2 separate regions of the Homo sapiens genome follow, and region 1 is linked to region 2. Evidence: promoter capture Hi-C in 16 types of primary human blood cells and fetal thymus (Javierre and others, 2016). All regions are on one chromosome and are shown on one strand. Each heading gives the region's core, a stretch centred on a gene start or on the middle of the fragment in contact. The rest is flanking DNA. Distances are from core to core; before and after follow the strand shown.

The links. The method cuts DNA at HindIII sites, captures the fragments that hold promoters and counts their contacts. A CHiCAGO score of 5 or more calls a contact.
Region 1: a contact is called between a fragment that was not itself captured here and the fragment with the promoter of KIAA2012 in region 2, in 1 of 17 cell types (M2 macrophages). The highest score is 5.4, in M2 macrophages.

What each region holds. Positions count from the first base shown.
Region 1 is chr2:202,174,865-202,178,980 of GRCh38, reverse strand. The region is part of intron 15 of KIAA2012; the gene reads right to left. Among named protein-coding and RNA genes, the nearest start is that of KIAA2012-AS1, 60 kb to the right of the region's middle. The HindIII fragment of the contact is 6,218 bases long and covers 1-4,116 here.
Region 2 is chr2:202,070,728-202,074,685 of GRCh38, reverse strand. It overlaps KIAA2012, which reads right to left and starts at 1,431. Exons shown (of 24, transcript NM_001277372.4): 1 at 975-1,431. The coding sequence starts at 1,058. The HindIII fragment of the contact is 5,257 bases long and covers 1-3,958 here.

The sequences.
Region 1 (4,116 bases), core at 957-3,456, 100 kb before region 2:
GAAAAAGTTCACCCATTATTCCATTGGCATCATTCCCTTAATACTACAGTTAATCTGTTTTTCAATGTTATTTTGTGGTTTCCCCGCCCAGGAGCTTCTTTGCAACTTTGGTTTTCTTCTACTTCTACTCAGGTTCAGGGAGGTGTCCACTGTCTCTCAAATCAACCACCAGACTTTAGAGGGGCACAAGATTGTTAACGCGCAAAGGTGGTTGAGGAATTGGAAAGGTTGACTGGGGCTGCACCTTGGAATTTATTTTGTCTTGGATAATATGTAACATTAACAGAGAGCAGAAGCTGATTAAAGTATCTTGGTGCCAAAGGGTAGTTCTGTGAGTATTTCTTTCCTTAACATGACTGGCGCGAAAAAACTCTCACTGAAGACTTTCACTGCTCTTCTCAACTATTTTGAACTCTGGGACAGGGCATGATAGAACCAGCAGAGGGCGTATTTGTATTGACCAAAAGCTGAGGTTGTACATTGGTGAAACTTCCATTGTGATTAGAATTGAAACCTTCCCAGTTTTGGGATGTGGGCCATAGAAGGGTGATTTTTTTTTTCTCTTAGTAAAATAACCTGATATTTAGGAAGTATTGGAACAAACGAAGTCAGTGCTTTGAATAACTTACAACTTTTAAGTACTTTTTAAAAGTCTATAAAATATCTTAAGCGTTCACAGTATAGGAAAAATACTGTATACTCATTGCCACTTAGTTTTGTAAAATTTTAACATTTTGCCATATTTGAGTCATGCATTTCTTTCTTTCTTTCTTTCTTTTTCTGAGACAGAGTCTCACTCTGTTGCCCAGGATGGAGTGCAATGGCACCATCTCAGCTCACTGCAACCTCCACCTCCTAGGTTCAAGCAATTCTCCTGCCTCAGCCTCCCAAGTAGCTGGGATTACAGGTGTACGCCACCATGCTCAGCTTATTTTTGTATTTTTACTACAGACAGGGTTTCACCATGTTGGCCAGGCTGGTCTCAAATTCCTGAACTCAAGTGATCTGCCTGCCTTGGCCTCCCAAAGTGCTGGGATTACAGGCATGAGCCACTGTGCCCAGCCTAAGTCATGCATTTTCTAAAGAAATCAAACATTTAAGACACAGTCCAAGACTTCATTTATCACATGCTACTATGGTGTGAATGTTATCGTCTCCTTCAAAATTTGTGTGTTGGAAACTCAATCAATATTCAATGCAGCAGTGTTGGGAGGTGGGGCTTAATAAAAAGTGTTTAGGTCATGGAGGGCTCCATCCTCATGAATGGATTAATGCTGCTATAAAAAGGGTTTGTGGGCTGGGCACAGTGATGCACACCTGTAGTCTCAGCTACTCGGGACACTGAGGCTGTGGATAGTGTGAGTCCAGGAATTCAGGTTGAGCCTGGGCAACATAGAGAGACCCCATCTCTAAAAAAAGAAAAAGGGCTTGTGGGAATGAGTTCCCTCTCTTTTGCCTTTTTGCCTCCCACCACGTGAGGACACAGTAAGAAACCTGCATCTTGATCTTGGGCTTCTCAGCCTCCAGAACTGTGGGAGACTGTTCTGTTCTTCATAAATTACCCAATCTCAGGCATTCTGTTATAGCATCACAAAATGGATTAAGACACATATAATCCCATTTCCCTCTCCCTCCCAGAGGTAATCAGTCTCTTCAATTTGATATTCATCAATCCTCATATATATTTTTATATCTGTATTACATATACATGCACATGTAAACAATATATAGTATTTTTTACAAATTAAAACTTTACATAAATGATATTATTTATGTAACTTGTTCAACTTGCCTTATTTTGCTTAATAAGGCAAAAAACCCTTAATAAGTCTTTTGGGATTAACCCATATTAATACATGTAATTTTATTTTCAGCTATCATATAGTATTCCGTTGTATAAATATGTGACCATTTAAAAATCCATTTTACTATTGGTGGCCATTTTGATTATTTCCAATTGTTTATGATTATTAATAATGTTTCAATGAACCTTTTTAGGTGAGTCACTGTTCATACATGCTTTCTCTAAAGGATACCTGGGAATGAACTTGTTGGGATGCAGGATATATGCATCTTCAATTTATTGAATATTTTCAAATTGCTCTAAATTACTAAAACTTTATATCCTCATTAATAGTGTTTATAGACTTTTAAACTTTTGCTGGTCTGATATATATGAAATGATATCTTTTTGTTTTAACTGGGATTTTCCTGATTAGTAAGGAGAACTTTTTTTTCTCTATGGCCATTTATTTGTGTTTCTTCTTCTGTTAGTTGCCTGTTCACATCATTTGCTCATTTTTCCTTTGGGTTGATTGTCTTTTTCTTTCCCTATTTGTAGAGGGAAGAAATGCTGCTGCATTTTGGTTACTAATGCTTTGTTGGTTACATGCATTGCAGGTATCTCCTTCTAATCTGCAATTTGGCTTTTAACTTCATGTTGTCTTGTTGAAAACTTCAAACTTTAATATAGTCAGATTCATTGGCGGGGCACAGTGGCTCACACCTGTAATCCCAGCACTTTGGGAGGCCAAGGCAGGCTGATCACTTGAGTTCAGGAATTTGAGACCAGCCTGGCCAACATGGTGAAACCCTGTCTCTACTAAAAATACAAAAATTAGCCGGGCCTGGTGGCACACACCTGTAATCCCAGCTACTTGGAAGGCTGAGGCAGCAGAATCGCTTGAACCCAGGGGACAGAGGTTGCAGTGAGCCAAGATCATGCCATTGCACTTTCTGGGCAATAGAGCGAGACTCCGTCCCAAAAAAAAAAAAAAGATTTATCAATAATTTTCTTTATGGTTTGTGTTATGAATAATAGGTAAAAAGTTTTTTCCTTTCCAAAATTCATAAAAATATTCTGCTATATTTTCCTCTAAAAGTTAAATTTTGCTTTTTGACATTAAGCTCCTGAATACACCTGATATTTTGTGAGGTGAGAATTTTAAAATTGCATAACCAGTTGTCTCAAAATTATATAGTGAATAATAGATCATCCTTTCTCCACTATTTCCCTTTATAATGCCATTGCCATATATCAAGTTTCCATATGTGGGCACATTTATTTCTGGATTCTCTATTCTCTTCTGTCTGTCTCTAAGCCAATAGCACACAGTTTTATTTTTTACAGCTTTAAAATAAGTTTTTATATTTGTCAGGGCAAACTTCCACTTTATTTTTTTTCAAAATTATACTGGCTAATATCTTAGTCTGTTCAGGCTGCTATAACAAAATACCATAAACTGGGTAGCTTAGAAACAACAGAAATTTATTTCTTGTGGGTCTAGAGGCTGGAAAGTTCAAGATCAAGGTGCTGGAACATTCAGTGTCTGGGGACATTCAGTGTCTGGGGAAGTCTCACTTTCTGGTTCATGGAGGGCACCTTCTTTTGTGTCCTCACATGATAAAAGGGGCAAGATAGCTCTCTGGGGCCTCTTTTGTAAAGGCACTAATCTCATTTATGAGGGCTCTGCCCTCATGACTTAATCACCTCCCAGAGGCCCAACCTCCAAATACCTTTACATTGGTGATGAGGTTTCAGCATGTGAATTTTTGGGGGACACAAACATTCAGACCATGACAACTATTTCTGGCTTTTCTATATGAATTTTAATATCAGCTAATCATGTTCTGCCAAAAACCCTGTTGGGGATTTTTAAAATTGAAATTGCACTGAATTTATAGACTGCCAAAAGGAAAAACCAAACCAAACCGGAATCTGATCAAGTTTCTAGACCCAAGTGTTAACTTACAGGACATGTGGAAGACAGAGAAACATGTTAAACTACACTATGAGGACGCAATCAGCAAAGTCTAGATTGAAACTCAACAAGACAAGTGACCCAATTTCCTACAAATACACTAAAAGGGGGAAAAAAAAGAAATGGAAGGGAACTTATAAATTCAATGAGATTTAAAGGTCATATCAACCAATTGTAAACAGTTGGTTTGCAAATTCCAAAACAATTATAATAATTATGGGACAATTTGAACTTTGAAAACTGACTGAATATTCAATTATATTAAAGAATTATTTAAATTTTGGGTGTAATAATGGTATCATGATTATGTTAAAAGTCATTTCTCGGTGCAGCGCACCAGCATGGCACATGTATA
Region 2 (3,958 bases), core at 182-2,681:
TTTCACCCCATACAACTTTCAGGAGAGTCATGTATGGCTGGAGGATTAACTCAGCTTGTATGTAGGTTACAGGCCAGTTAAAGTTTCCTGGTATGCAAGTAAGTGGTCAGAATTATTAAGGGCAGCAGATAACTTTGAAATTAGACCTGGACTAGCTGGCAGTTTAAATAGGAGCATTCCAAGCCACCACCACTTCAGCTGTACGTGGGGAGAATTTCTATACATTCCAGATGCTATGTAACATTACCTAATTTGGCTATTTAGGGGCCTATAAAGCAGTTACATATCTTGTAGGTAAGAAAATGCCATTGGCCATACAGGTCCTTTGAAACTTTATATGCCGTTTAACACAGCAAAGGTCAAATATCATGACAAAGTACCATGACAATGGAAATCTCTGTATGACCCCCAAATTTGCAAAGTATCCCCAATAGGTTTCTTATCCCTGGCAGGATTCAAGTGAAATAAAAATCTAGTATAACAAGGGAATTTTGCCACCTCTTTAAAATCTTCTAAAATGAGGTGGGTTTTTTTTTGGCCTATATTAAATATGAGTCCTGTGGGTTGAATTCCAGAAAGTTCAAGGAAGCCATTGAAATGGCATGAACACACACAGCATTTCAACTGCAGAGCACGACTTCCAAAAACCAAACAACCATCAGTTTGCCTAGAACCCAGGTGGAAATTCTGGTCTTGCACCAAACCATCCAAATTCCAGACAATCTGGAATCTCCTTTGGTCCAAGCAAAGACAGCTACAAGGGGAAAGATGAGGGCCTCAGGGGCAATCTCGGTGTGTCAGGAAAATGATGTTATTTTCTTGAGTTTCATGAAGGAGGAAGGAAGATCTTCCAGTGACCCCGCCACCTCACTAACAACACAAACCAAGACACACATGGTTTACCTCCCAAGTGGAAACATAGAGCATTCCTCTCCCACCTCCAAAATGTGCCTTTCTTCAGCTGTGGGACTCACCTCTGGTTCAAAGTAGACTTCTAACTTCTGTTTGTCCTGGCCCAGCTTCCCGTGGCCCCGGCTCAGGAGGGAGAGCGTGAACATGTTTCCCTCTGACCACCCCTTCTCAAGGGCAGTCCATCTTGGTTTTGAAGGCTGAAATCTGGTCACACCTCAAGATTTCCAGAGCTCACAGCAAGCCCAAGAAGACCACAAACACAGGGCCTTTTATTAAATACATTTTTCCCTCTCGCAGCAGCTTCTTAGTAACAACCAGCCACACAGTTTAGACAGTGTGTGTCTTTGTGGAGAGAAAAAATAAACCGCACAGCCAGCCTCCTCAAGCCCTGGATTGTCTACTCTCTGGGCGACCTGTCTCTCCCCTTCTCCTGAGCTCTTGTTGTCCCTTGGTCCCGGTTGCTCTGTTACCAGCCGTGTGCATCTACAGATCTCGGCCACAGCACCATCCTTCTTGTCTGAGCGGAGGTTGTTTCCTGGTTGCTATGGCAGCACAGGGAAATGAAGTCCCTTAAACTAACCCAGGCAAGGCAGAGACGGGTGCCGGGTGCAGTGTGCATTCCCCGGGGATGGGGGTGGGGGTCAAATGGACACTGAAGGGACCAGGCTCAGGTTGCAAGTCCCAGTTGCATGGGGTGGGGGACTTGTTGGGGTACTTTTTCTGTTATTGTTCTCATCTTGTTTTTAGAGAGCGTCTTCCCCTCTCTCCTGATATGTGAGCCTGTCACTGTCAACTAACCATTAACAGAGCCAGGGTGTAATCTAGGTCACCTAAAACCACCTGTGACTTTTTCCTTGGCTGAGCTCCATCATCCCCTCAACTGGACACGAGACCTCATTATGGTAGTTGCTGCTTTGCCTGAGCGGGAGACACTGGGATTCTCTAGCTTCCTTTGCATACCTGGTTCTCAACTGGGCAAGCTATCCCCTGATGGGGGTGCTCTGGAAATGTGGGTGGGGGACATTTTGGTTGTTGCAATGATTGGGGGTCTTGCTGGCATTGATCAAGCAGAGGCCCCAGATGCTAAATGTTCTACATGGTGTGAAATTCCCACATAGTGATGAACTGTCCCACTAGAATGCCAGGAGCACCTGCTTTGAGAAGCACTGTGTAGCCTGGGATGCTTGGGTCTCTTTAACAGTGACATTGTGACGAGCACAGACAGGAGGGAAGAGGGTCAGGAAACAAAAAGACCCCTTTGCTGGGGATCTAGGAACCTGCTCAAGCCTGGAAAAGCAAGCTGCCTGTTAGCTGTCAGCTGAACTACCCTGGCAGTCTTGTGGGAGTGCCCACTGCTGGCCTATATGAAGAAGCACAACAGGCTACAAGCCCACTTACCTTTTTGATCTTCCTATGTGGCACTTTCCCCTCCCCCTCTGACCCCTCCACCCCCAACCAAGTTCAAGTCTCCTGAGAAAGAAATAGAGGTTCTGTTGTAAAATAAAATAGGGTTTATTAGGGGGAATCAAGACAGCGAATGAGTGAATGCAGAGGCTCCAAACAGAATTTAATCAAAACCACAATGAGATACCACTTCACACCTACTAAGATGGCTATTATTAAAAAACAAAAACAAAAACAGAAAATAACAAGTATTTGGTGAAGATACGGAGAAATTGAAAACCTTGTGCATTGCTGTTGGAAATGCAAAATGGCGCAGCCTCTGTAGGAAATGGTATGACAGTTTCTAAGAAAATTAAACAGAATTACCGTATCACCAGTAATTCCACTTCTGGGTCTGTATACCTAAAGGAGGTGAAAGCAGGGTCTCAAAGAGATATTTGTATACTCATATGCAGAGCAAAACTGTTTATAAGAGCCAAAAGGTGGAAGTAACTCAAGTGTCCATCGACAGATGAATGAATCAACAAAATGTAGCATATGCATACAATGCAGTATTATTCAGCCTTAAGAAGGAAGGAAATTCAGTTGGTCACCATGGCTCATGCCTGTAATCCCAGCACTTTGGGAGGCCGAGGTGGGCGGATCACCTGAGGTCAGGAGTTCGAAACCAGCCTGGCCAACTTGATGAAACCCCGTCTGTACTAAAAATAAAAATTTAGCCAGGTGTGGTGGCACACGCCTGTAGTCCCAGCTACTTGGGAGGCTGAGGCAGGAGAACCGCTTCAACCTGGGAAGCGGAGGTTGCAGTGAGCCGAGATCATGCCACTGTACTCCAGCCTGGGCAACAGAGTGAGACTCCATCTCAAAAAAAAAAAAAAAAAAAAAAAAGGAAGGAAATTCAGACATATGCTACAACACGCATGTACCTTGAAGACATTACACTAAACAAGATAAGCCAATCATGAAAGAACAAACATTGTATGATTTCTCTTATGTGAAGTACTTAGAGTGGTCTGATTCACAGAGACAGAAAGTTGAATGGTAATTGACAGGGGCTGTCAGGGAGAGGGGAATGGAACATCAGTGTATAGTGGGTACAGAGTTTCAGTATGAGAAGATGAAAAAGTTCTGAAGGTGGATTCACAACAATATGAATGTACTTAATGTCAATGAACTGTAAACTTAAAAATGTTAAAATGGTCCATTTGAGCCAGTGCAGTGGCACACACCTGTCATCCCAGCTACTCCGGAGGCTGAGGCAAGAAGATCCCTTGGGCCCGTGAGTTTGAGTTCAGCCTTAGTGACAATGTGAGATCTCATCTCTAAAACGAAAGTAAATTTATGTTACATATATTTTACTACAATTAAAATTTTTTTCCGGTTGGTTGTGGTGGCTCATGCCTGTAATCCCAGCACTTTGGGAGGCCAAGGCAGGTGGATCACTTGAGGTCAGGAGGAGAACAGCCTGCCCAACATGGTGAAACCTCGTCTCTACTAAAAACACAAAAATTAGCCAGGCATGGTGGTGTGCCTTAAGAAGGAATCCCAACTGTAATCCCAACTGCTTGGGAGGCTGAGGCATAAGAATTGCTTGGGGAGGTGGAGGTTGCAGTGAGCCGAGATGGCACACTCTAGCCCGGGC